2 separate regions of the Homo sapiens genome follow, and region 2 is linked to region 1. Evidence: promoter capture Hi-C in human tissues and cell types (Jung and others, 2019). All regions are on one chromosome and are shown on one strand. Each heading gives the region's core, a stretch centred on a gene start or on the middle of the fragment in contact. The rest is flanking DNA. Distances are from core to core; before and after follow the strand shown.

Region 1 (5,949 bases), core at 468-2,967:
TCATCTCAGAAAAAAAAAAAAAGTCATTTGAAAACTTCTAATACAGCAAAATCCTATAAATGTAAGTACTTCAAAAAGCCTCATGCATAGCGGGTCATGTAGTCTCTAGAAAATACATAACCTGATGGAAATGTAGAAGCTATATGTATATTTTGTTAATTAGTGGCTCATATTTAAAATAGTTCTCTGACTATGGATTTCAAATGCTTAATCTCACAAAGAAATGTTAAATTGATATAATCCTGTAAGTAATCTGAAAGCAATAGTGCATGAATTTCATAGGTAGTGTTGTTTTAGGTCAGTAAATAAAATATTTGTCTTTCCATTTTGAAATGTGTTTAATCCAACAATGAATTTAAATGTGTTTCTCATATTCAGGTATGTTAAATTGTATATGGTTGCTTAATTGTTCTGTGATTGAGGACCACTGAAAAATAAGTCTTAATAAATGTTGGTATGAACCTACTTGCTTCATTTAGCAGGTTCTTGATTCCCTTTCCACATTATATACATTCCATCATATTTATTGGAACAGCTCCTTTTTTTTCCTTTTTTCTTTTTTCTTTCTTCTTTTTTCTTTTTGAGACAGGGTCTCGCTCTGTGCTCTGTTGCCCAAGCTGGAGTACAGTGGCATGATCTCGGCTCATTGCAACCTCTGCCTTCTGGGTTCAAGTGATTCTCCCACCTTAGCCTCCTAGGAAGCTGGGACTACAGGCATGTGCCACCACACCTGGCTAATTTTTTGTATTTCTAGTAGAGATGGGGTTTCACCATGTTGGCCAGGCTGGTAGAACTCCTGACCTCAAGTGATCCACCCACCTCAGCCTCCTAAAGTCTGGGATTACACGTGTGAGCCATCACACCTAGCCCATTTTTTTTTTCTTGGCTCAAATAATTTTATTTTGCTTCCTATTAAAGAGTTGTTGTTAATTCTAAGTATGTAAAGTTTATCACAGACTGTAGTCTCGTGAATTATTATTTTAACCTGTTGTTCTTTACTCCTTGTTATTTATTCTGGCTGCTCTTTGTATAATTGATTTTGGGATAAGGAGACAGCTATGATAGAATAATAAAATCTAAAATGGGAGATGCCTTTCATGGATTGTGTCATGTCAATCTGGGTAATGGGAACTAAACTTTTCAGACTTCATTTCTTTCTTTCTTTCTGAAATAGGGTCTCACTCTGTCACTCAGGCTGGAGTGCAGTGGCACGACTGTGGCTCACTGTAACCTCAAACTCTGGAGCTCAGGTGGCCTTCCGACCTCAGCCTCCCAAATGGCTGGAACTATAGGTATGTGCCACCAAGCCCAGCTAATCTTTTTATTTTTGGTTTTTCATCTTTTTTTTTTTTTGTAGAGATGGTGTCTTGCTATGTTGCCCAGACTGGTCTCAAACTCCTGGCCTCAAGTCACCCTCTAGCCTCAGCCTCTTAAAGCACTAGGATTACAGGCATAAGCCACTGTGCCTGGCCCAGAATTTCTTTCTTTCATGGTTACCTGTAGACTGCATCAATAGCCTAAATTCCTGGAAGTTTAGAATGCAGAAGTGAAGAACGCATTAGTCAGATTTTGGAGGCATCATACGGAGAGACAGATGCATATGGGCTGTTTGGACATGGTCATCTAGCCCATTTTCCTGATTCTTTGCCCTGCCAATCAAGAGTATCCTCAGCCGGGTGTGCTGGCTCACACCTGTAATTCTAGCACTTTGGGAGGCCAAGGCGGTCGGATCACCTGAGGTGAGGAGTTCGAGACCAGCGTGGTCAACATGGTGAAACCCCATCTCTACTAAAAATACAAAAATTAGCTGGGTGTGGTGTCGCGTGCTTATAGTCCCAGCTGAGGCAGGAGAATCGCTTGAGCCAGGGAGGTGAAGGTTGCAGTGAGCCAAGATCATGCCACTGCACTCCAGCCTGGGTGACAGAGTACAGAGTAAGACCCTGTCTCAAAAAAAAAAAAAAAAAAAAAAAAAAGAGTATCCTCTAATCCACCACTAGCTACTTCACCTCCATGTTCTCAAAGTTATGGATTTCCATAGATGTTTTTAAAAGCTTCATATCAAAGATTCAGCTGCCATTTGGATATTCCTGAAGGCCCTAATATATCTGCCAAGTAATCAGTTCATATTGTCATTGTTGGGAATAGTCTGATGATCTGACTTGGTTCCTGTACGGTCCAGTTTGTACATAAACATTTTTGTCCATAGGGACAGTGAGTGTTACTGATGCAGGTTGAGAGCTACAATGGCACTATCCAAAAACAAAACGAAAAACCCTACATGGAGCTTGTTCCTCTGCTGCATTATGCAGAGATGGGTCTCACCCCGTTCTTTCATGTGAGAATAAGCACCTTATTCATTATAGAAACATTGTGGGTGTTTCCTGTTACTCATAGCTGAATGCAGTCCCTCAGTTTATTTTGAATTATGTTTGAGTACATATGATTACAAACAATATACATGTCCTCCTCAAACAAAAGTTCTCTACACATTTCTTAGAAATATTAACAGTATGCAAGCAACTTGCATACTGTCTGGTGAGTTTTGTATTTATTGAGAATATATATTAAAATATCCCATTCCAATCATGGATCCGATAAACTTTATAATTAAGCTATTTGTCCAACATTGTGAGTCAATATTACTGTGAGCTTACAACTTCAGGCCTTTTTTTCCTCATAAATTTTAGTTTTCATGCTTATTTGATTACAACTTTTATGATGATAGTAGTTTTTCATATGCATAATACCAAAAGTCAAATCATGTTGTGAGTGATTTCTTTCCAAGGACTATCAGGGACGTCCCTGTTGTCAAGCAGGGTGTAATAAATTGTGGTAATAAATACTACCACAGGCCGGGCGCGGTGGCTCACCCTGTAATCCCAGCATTTTGGGAGGCCAATGCGGGCAGATCACTTGAGGCCAGGAATTGGAGACCAGCCTGGACAACATAGCAACACCCTGTCTCTACTAAAAATACAAAAATTAGCCTGGTGTGGTGGTGCACATCTGTAATCCCAGCTACTTGGGAGTGGAGGTTGCAGTGAGCCAAGCACGCCACTGCACTCCAGCCTGGGCAACAGAGTGAGACTCTCTCAAAAAATAAAAAAATAATAAATACCACCACAAACCAGTAATGACTGTAAGGTGTATCAATAAGAGGGTATTTAAAAGAATTTATTGCAGAACTTATGCTGCTTTTTGGTTGCTTGATTCCTATTTAAGGAAGCAAAAAATTTCTCTGTATTTGATATAGTGAAGAGGTGAACTTAATTCTACCCTTGGTAATTCTTTTTATTTTTGAGACGGAGTCTTGCTCTGTCACCCAGGCTGGAGTGCAGTGGCGCAATCTCAGCTCACTGCAAGCTCCGCCTCCCGGGTTCACGCCATTCTCCTGCCTCAGCCTCCCGAGTAGCAGGGACTACAGGCACCCACCACTACGCCCGGCTAATTTTTTGTATTTTTAGTAGACGGGGTTTCACCGTGTTAGCCAGGATGGTCTCGATCTCCTGACCTCGTGATCCACTGGCCTCGGCCTCCCAAAGTGCTGGGATTACAGGCATGAGCAACCGCGCCCGGCCCTAGTAATTCTTTTTTTTTTTTCTTTTGTGAGACAGAGTCTTGCTCTGTTGCCCAGGCTGGAGTTCAGTGATGCGATCTTGGCTCACTGCAACCTCCACTTCTCTGGTATAAGTGATTCTCCTGCCGCAGCCTCCAGCGACAGTGCCAGACTTCGTCTCAAAAAAAACCCAGAAAACAAAAAGACAAAAACCTTTCAGAATACTTCCTGAATGATCTGCCAGAGCCTGTTTTACAGCTTTTTTTCTGGAGGCGGAGGGGACATGGTCTTGCTCTGGAGTAGCTTGGATTACAGGTATGTGCCACGACACCTGGCTAATTTTTGTATTTTGAGTCGAGACGGGTTTTGCCATGTTGGCCACGCTGGTCTCAAACTCCTAGGCTGAAGTGATCGGCCCACCTCGGCCTTCCAAAGTGCTGGGATTACAGGTGTGAGCCACAGCACCCAGCTGAATATACATTTTTCTAAGGAAGATAAACAACTGAGCAAGGGGACCTGAAAAGATGCTGGACATCATTAAGTAAATGCTAAACAAAAAGGCAAGGAAATACCACTTCAAACCCACTAGGATGGGTAGAATGAAAAAGTGAGATAATAACACATGTCAAGGATATGGAGAACTTGGAACCCTCATACACTGCTGGTGAGAATGGAAAATAGAGCAGCCGCTTTGCTTTTTTGTTTGTTTTTTAAATTTTTCTTTTTTAAGAGATGGGGTTTTGCTCTGTAGCCCAGGCTGTCAAGGCTCACTGCACTCTCAAACTTCTGGATTCAAGAAATCCTCCCATCTCAGCCTCCTGAGTAGCTGAGAACACAGGTGTGCACCACCATGCCCAATTAATTTTTCTTTTTCTTTTAGAGATGGGGTTTTGCTCTTTTGTCAGGGCTGGTCATGAACTTTTGGGCTCAAGCTATCCTCCTGCCTTGGCCTTCCAAAATGCTGGGATTACAGGCATGAGCCACCGTGCCCTGCCAGGAGTTTCTTTTTTGAGGTAATGAAAATGTTCTAGGCCTGGCGCGGTGGCTCATGCCTGTAATCCTAGCACTTTGGGAGGCTGAGGCGGGCGGATCACGAGGTCAGGAGATCGAGACCATCCTGGCTAACACGGTGAAACCCGTCTCTACTAAAAAATACAAAAAATTAGCTGGGCGTGGTGGCAGGCCCTGTAGTCCCAGCTACTCGGGAAGCTGAGGCAGGAGAGTGGTGTGAACCCGGGAGGCGGAGCTTGCAGTGAGCCGAGATGGCGCCACTGCACTCCAGCCTGGGCGACAGAGCGAGATTCCGTCTCAAACAAGAAAAAAAGAAAATGTTCTAGGCCAGGTGCCGTGGCTCATGCCTGTAATCCCAGCAGTTTGGGAGACTGAGGCAGGTGGATCACTTGAGGTCAGGAGTTCAAGACCAGCCTGGCCAACATGGTGAAACCCCGTCTCCACTAGAAATACAAAAATCAGCCAAGCACAGTGGCGCGCGCCTATAATCCCAGCTACTCTGGAGGCTGAGGCAGAAGAATCGCTTGAACACCAGAATCGGAGGCTGTAGTGACCCGAGATCGCGCCATTGCATTCTGCACTCCAGCCTGGGCAACAGAGTGAGACTCCATCTCAAAAAAAAAAAAAAAAGAAAATGTTCTATAATTGACTGTGGTGATTATCTGTTTGCATCTTTGAATATACTTTACTGAATTGTACACTTAAAAGGGATGCATTGTGTAGTGTGTTTTATTCTGATATAGCTTTTCAAATAAATATGACTTCAGATTTTTGATTAATCTGTTAAGCATACTAAGAGTTTCCAGATATACCTTAATTTACATCACTTTTTATTGTTCATTTTTGTATCAGTGAAAATAGGGATTCAATTACCTTAGGTATATCATAGTCGTTTACATTTCAAAGTTCTCTGCGAACACAATCTGTAACCTATTTAAAATAAATTTTCCTGTAGTGTGAAATGTACACTTCAGAGTTTAATTGAACATATCTCACAGCTGTGGTTAGTCTGATAAGCGTCCTTGCATCCATGCTAGGGATGTGGGGTTCAAAGAGATTGTGTGTAAAAGGCTCTGGAGGCCAAGGGATTCTTTATTTAAAGTAAATGTGTGGGGATTGGGGAAGGAATGGGTGGAGGTCTCAATGCCGTTAGCCGTCAATGTCAGAATGGAGCTAGACTCATTACACACGGCGAAGTCACTTTTAAAGTGTCTGTGTTTGTGAACGGAGCTCACAGTTCCACGAGTGCCCTCTAGACTCAGGCCAAGTCCCTGGCCCCCGGAGGAGTCAGACCCTCTTGTTCCAATCTGGACTTGCCTGGGTGACCCTCTTGCTGTGGATTTGTTCCTTAAAGGGTCACTACATCTGGCAACTGAGGCTGG
Region 2 (6,403 bases), core at 24-2,523, 140 kb before region 1:
CAAAGTCAGGAGGAGTTCAAGACCAGCCTGGCCAATATGGTGAAACCCGTTTCTACTAAAAATACAAAAATTAGCCGGGCGTGGTGGCTGGCGCCTGTAGTCCCAGCTACTCGGGAGGCTGAGGCAAGAGAATCGCTTGAACCCGGGAGGCGGAGGTTGCAGTGAGCCGAGATGGCGCCACAGCACTTCAGCCTGGGGCGACGGAGCGAGACTCCGTCTCAAAAATATAAAAATCTGGTAAAATAAAAACAGGTCTTTTGGGGAAGGGGGCGGGGACTGGGATGGAATAACGTGGCAGATAACAGCCCTCCTTCCTACAGCCTCCAAATTTTAGACAAAGCTTTACACACTCTCAACCAACTGCCACCTACAGAATCCCTCCACCACCTGTGCCTTCTAACCCCGCTTCCATGTGTCCCGCCTTTCGGCCAAAGGAACTTACACCTTCCCGGCACTGATTCATCATTTTCCTGCAATTCCTGTCTCCCTGAAATGAATAAAACCAAACTGTCAGGAGCTGCCTCGGGATTGCTTACTCCAGACTTCGCGGGGTTGTGTTTCCCTCAGCCGAGGTCTCTCCTATTCGGCTCAGAATAAACTTATTCTACACGATTTGGGTTTTTCCGTTACCAAACCACAAGCCAGGACTGGGAGTTTCTCATTCATTAATCGCTGTTTGCTAAAATAAACTCTCATTTTTTAACAGTGCCTCAGTTTAATTTTTAACTGGAAAAAAAAAGGAACTGGGGACCCCACAGCCCACAGCTCCTCCCACACGAACCCCACACCCGAGGCAGGATCCCCCATGACCCTTCCATGGTCACCGCACAATCTGGGGAGACGCGGGGCTGCGGGCGCGGAGCTGCTCAGAGAGGGAGCCGGGGCCGGGGCCGCAGTCGCCGCGCAGGGACCGGACAGGACGCCCGGGGTCCCGGCTGCCGGCCCAGCTCCACCCAGCGGCCGAGGGGACCGAGGGCCGAGCTGCGCTAGGGGGACTGTGTCTGGAGCCCAGAGTCGCTGCAGGGGGGCCCGGGCCCCGCCACAGCGGGTTCCTCTCGGTTCCACCCAGTCCCTCCTTTCGCCTTGGGACTCCCCAGCACCGCATGCTCACCATTTCCTGGCTTCCAGGTATTCTGGCGTCCTCTCTAAAGGTCCCGTGAACAGTGCAGGTCACAGCGCAGTCGACAGAGCAACAGCAGCTACGGCGGAAGTAACTGGTCCCTCTCGGAGCAAGAAAGCCCCAGACCTTAACTAGCGCGAGCAGCCCTAGGAGTGAAGAGAGCGGGAATGCAACCTCCCCTTCCCTGGAGGACAGTGGCAGGGCCCCGCCCTAGCGCCCCTGATTGGATAGGGGTCTAGACTCCGCCCCCTTCCCTGAGTGACAGCAGAAGCCCCGGGTAACTGGGCGCTGCAGAGCCGAAGCGACTGGTTCTGGCCACACTTTCCAAGGTCAGCTCCCTCCCTCCCTCCCACCTTTACTTCGAATATTTGCCTTCGGCCAAACTTGCTCCGAACTGCTAGAAGGGACACTGTTGTCTTCCTCACTCCGTGGGCCGTCCCTGCCCCTTCATCCTACACGGGACACAAGTGTGCAGGGAATTCCAGATTCAGTGTCCACAAAATGTGAAAGACATTAAAATATTTTGCCCCAAGATATTGCCCTGCCAAAATATATTTCTTTGACAGTTTTGAAATGGCTGCTGCTTGGCCAGCAAACAAAAGGTGGCCTTGCAAAACTGTCTTTTGAGGGGGAAATTTACATTTGTAGAGAATCTCCGTTAATGAAGCACTGCCAGCTCCCCCGTTCTTTTCCTTTCCCTGATCTAAAAGCTATTGAGAGTTTGACACCTTTAAAATCTGAAGAGAGGTAGCACATGGTGACTCATGTCTATAATCCCACCACATTGGCAAACTGAGGCGGAAGGATCCCTTGAAGCAAGGAGTTTGAGGCCAACATCATCAACACAGCGAGATCCCTGTCTTTCTTTCTTTTTTTTTTTTTTTTTTAGACAGTCTCGATCTGTCGCCCAGGCTGGAGCACAGTGGCACGAGATCTTGGCTCACTGCAACCTCCGCCTCCCAGGTTCAAGCGATTCTCCTGCCCCAGCCTCCCAAATAGCTGGGATTACAGACATGCGCCACCACGCCCCGCTAATTTTGTATTTTTAGTAGAGACGGGGTTTCTCCATGTTGGTCAGGCTGGTCTCGAACTCACGACCTCAGGTGATCCGCCCGCCTCGGCCTCCTAAAGTGCTGGGATTACAGGCGTGAGCCACCTCGCCCGCCGATCCCTGTCTTTATTATTTAAAATTTTTTTAAATGGCCGGGCGCTGGCCGGGCGCAGTGGCTCACGCCTGTAATCCCAGCACTTTGGGAGACCGAGGTGGGCGGATCACGAGGTCAGGAGATCGAGACCATCCTGGCTAATACGGTGAAACCCCGTCTCTACTAAAAATACAAAAAAAAAATTAGCCGGGCGTGGTGGTGGGCGCCTGTAGTCCCAGCTACTCGGGAGGCTGAGGCAGGAGAATGGCGAGAACACGGGAGGTGGAGCTTGTAGTGAGCAGAGATCGCACCACTGTACTCCAGCCTGGGCCACAGAGCAAGACTGTGTCTCAAAAAAACAAAACAAAACAAAACAAAAAACCAGTGGCCGGGCGCAGTGAGACCAGGTCTCTACCAAAAAGATAAGTAAATAGATTAGGGCCAGGCATGGTGGCTCATGCCTGTAATCCCAGCACTTTGGGAGGCCGAGGTGGGTGGATCACTTGAGGTCAGGAGTTTGAGACCAGCCTGGCCAACTTGACGAAATCCCATCTCTACCAAAAATATAAAAATGAGCTGGGTTTGGTGGCACACACCTGTGATCCCAGCTATTCGGGGGGCTGAAGCAGGACAATTGCTTGAACCCAGAAGACGGAGGTTGTAGTGAGCAGAGATTGCACCATTACACTCGAGCCTAGGTGACAGAGTGAGACCTTGTCTCATAAAAAGGAAAAAAGTCTATTCTCTGGGGGAGACATCATCTACGTAACAGTCCACCTCTAGCCAAGCCTCTTCCTTTCTCAGTCTACTAAGCTGTCTTGCTACTAAACCTAATTTACTGACCTCAGGTCGCTATATAATCTTCTCTGTCTTATAGCTGGGTGTGTCTTCATTCTGAAGGTTCCCATGTATACATGTTAAATACATTTGCATGCCTTCTTTTCTATTAATCAATCTGCCTCAGATCAATTAGTTTTCAGCAAACCTTTAGGACACGAAGAGTCTATCACCCCCACAAAGCCATCCCCTTGTCTCAGGGCAGGAGGGGAACAAGGCCATGTATGACTGCTCCAGGAGGGAGAGACAGATCTCCTGCAGTGGGGCAAGAATCGGGATGAGGCATGGCCAAGGTTTCCTCACATACACCCATCTTCTCCTCACAGTGTGGAAACTCCCCCTCCTCTCCACACCTTCATTTTCATTAGCGGGAAACTCTCACCTGGAGTCAGTTTAATCTTATTACCAGAAAGGGGTACCAATCCAGACCCCAAAAGAGAGTTCTTGGACCTCATGTAAGAACAAATTCAGGGTGAGTCCATAAAGTAAAAGCAAGTTTATTACAGAAGTAAAGAAACAAAAGAATGGCTACTCCATAGACAGAGCAGCAGCATGGTCTGCCTGACAATGTATACTTATAGTTATTTCTTGATTATGTGCTAAACAAGGGGTGGATTATTCATGAGTGTTCTGGGAAAGGGGCAGGCAATTCCCAGAACTGAGGGTTCCTACCTCTTGTTATACCACATAGGGTAACGTCTGGATATTGCCATGGTATTTGTAAACTGCCATGGCGCTTGTGGGAGTGTTTGTTAGCATGTTAATGCTTTATAATTAGTGTATAATAAGTAGTGAGGACCACATAAGGTCACTTTCTTTTCTTTTCTTTTTTTTTTTGAGACAGAGTCTCACTCCCTCGCCCAGGCTGGAGTGCAGCAGCGCAATCATAGCTCGCTGCAGCCTCTCTGCCTTCCTGCAGCCCCTGCCTCCCAGGCTCAAGCAATCCTCCCAGCTCAGCCTCCTGAGTAGCTGAGACTACAGCCACAGGCCACCACAATCAGCTAATTTTTGTATTTTTTGTAGAGATGGGGTATCACTGTGTTGCCCAGGGTGGCAGAGGTCACTTTCGTCGCCAACTTGGTTTTGGTGGGCTTTGGCTGGTTTCTTCAGCGCATTCTGTTTTATCAGTGGGGTCTTTATGACCTGTATCTTGTGATACCAGTCCTGCCGACCTCCTAGCTCATCCTGTGACTAAGAACGCCTAATCACCTGGGAATGCAGCCCAGTAGGTCTCACCCTTATTTTACCCAGCCCCTATTCAAGATGGTTTCACTCTGCTTCAAACACCCCTGACATTATGACTTAAATAAAGTCAACTTTATAAACCCTTTGTTCATAACACAACCCAAACAATTTGTTCTCTGAGGCTGACCTTCACAGATTTGCTTCATATATATCAATTACAGTCTGTCCCCAGCGACCCTGTGCATGCCAAAACCAAAACACTGCCCAGAAAATAGCTCCAGGCCTGAAGGTACCTCTGAAAGGTACAACCCCAGATAGGACAGAACCCCCGAGCGCATCTGCACGTGGGTCTTCTGCCATCCAGGGCTCTGCAGCTTCCCAGAATCCACACTCCTTCTGGAGCTGGAGGCCACCTTCAAGGGAGGGCGGGCTCCGGGGGAAGCCCCCAGGAGTTTGCAAAAGGAGCCCCCTTTCCCTCCTTTTGCAAACTCCAGACTAGCCTCAGCGGGGAGTCATTGGCCTCCGGCTCTGCTGCCCCCTACAGGTTATTAAGCCGCTTCTTACCCCATTGATCAGTTCCTAGAAACAAACACCCTCAATCCCAGTGTGTGAATAAGACGCCAGCAGAGTCTCTGCTTTCCTCCTGTGGTGCTTTTTTTTATTTTGTTTTGTTTGTTTGTTTGTGACGGAGTCTCGCTCTGTCGCCCAGGCTGGAGTGCAGTGGCGCGATCTCGGCTCACTGCAAGCTCCTCCTCCCGGGTTCAGGCCATTCTCCTGCCTCAGTCTCCTGAGTAGCTGGGACTACACAGGCGCCCGCCACCACGCGCGGCTAATTTTTTTTTTTTTTTTTTTTGGAGACTGAGTTTCACTCTTGTTGCCCAGGCCGGAGTGCAGTGGCGCGATCTCGGCTCACTACAAGCTCCGCCTCCCGGGTTCTCGCCATTCTCCTGCCGCAGCCTCCCGAGTAACTGGGACTACAGGTGCCGGCCACCGCGCCCGGCTAATTTTTTGTATTTTTAGTAGAGACGGGGTTTCACTGTGTTAGCCAGGATGCTCTCGATCTCCTGACCTCGTGATCCGCCCGCGTCGGCCTCCCAAAGTGTTGGAATTACAGGCGTGAGCCACCGCGCCCGGCCTCCTCCTGTGCGTTATGTATGACATAAGGAAAAACAGGCTGGGTGCGGTGGCTCATGCCTGTAATCCCAGCACTTTGGGAGGCCAAGGCGGGCAGATCATGAGGTCAGGAGTTCGAGACCAGCAGCCTGGCCAACATAGTGAAACCTCGTCTCTTCTAAAAATACAAAAAATTAGCCAGGCGTGGTGGCAGGCGCCTGTAGTCCCAGCTACTTGGGGGGCTGAGGAAGGAGAATCGCTTGAACCCGGGAGGGAGAGGTTGTGGTGAGCCGAGATCGCGCCACTGCACTCCAGCCTGGGCAACAAGAGTGAAACTCAGTCTCAAAAAAAAAAAAAAAAAAAAATTAGCCAGGCGAATAGCTTGAACCTGAGAGGTGGAGGTTGCAGTGAGCCGAGATGGCACCACTGCACTCCATCCTGGGCGACAGAACGAGACTCCATCAGAAAGAAAAGAAAGGAAGGAAAAAAAGAAGGGAAGGGAAAGGGACAGGAGGGGACGATAGGGGAGGGGAGGCGGTCGGGAGGGATGTGCAGCCCAGGAGGAGAAGGAAGGGGGCCAGGGAGGCTTAGTCAGTGGGCGGTGGGTGTGTGGGTGTGTGTCCTGTCAGCTTCACATTGTCCAAAGGATCAGAATTCAGTTGTGAGTTTATGAAAGTGAAAAGCAGGGAATGGCCTTTCTGGAAAACACATACTTCAAAGAAATGGGCTCAGTTCTTTCTTACTCAGATTTTGAACAACTCATTTTCACAACCCCAAACCCTCTGCAGGTCACATTTCCTCCTCTCATTTTGGTCTTGGCCTGAACCCTACCTGCTCTCCTTGCACCCTTGTTCCCAGCAAACCGAGGATTGGGCTGCTTATTCTCTGTGCCCAATAATGAGATGCAGATGAACTGGGAAAGAAGAGTTGCTTGCTTTATTTATTTTTTTTATTTTTTTGAAATGGAGGCTTGCTCTGTCTCCCAGGCTGGAGTGCAGTGGCG

The links. Contacts are between HindIII fragments. The study calls those that stand out against the background at their distance.
Region 2: a contact is called between the fragment with the promoter of ZNF878 here and a fragment that was not itself captured in region 1, in 3 of the 25 tissues and cell types used here (adrenal gland, lymphoblastoid cells and mesenchymal stem cells).

Annotation. Positions count from the first base shown.
Region 1 is chr19:12,188,785-12,194,733 of GRCh38, forward strand. ZNF136 (zinc finger protein 136) reads left to right here. Exons shown (of 4, transcript NM_003437.5): 4 at 1-1,087. Among named protein-coding and RNA genes, the nearest start is that of ZNF136, 29 kb to the left of the region's middle. The HindIII fragment of the contact is 7,748 bases long and covers 1-5,591 here.
Region 2 is chr19:12,051,688-12,058,090 of GRCh38, forward strand. ZNF878 (zinc finger protein 878) reads right to left here and starts at 1,274. Exons shown (of 4, transcript NM_001080404.3): 1 at 1,112-1,274. The coding sequence starts at 1,114. RefSeq lists a silencer at 870-919 and an enhancer at 1,108-1,613. The HindIII fragment of the contact is 7,236 bases long and covers 1-4,685 here.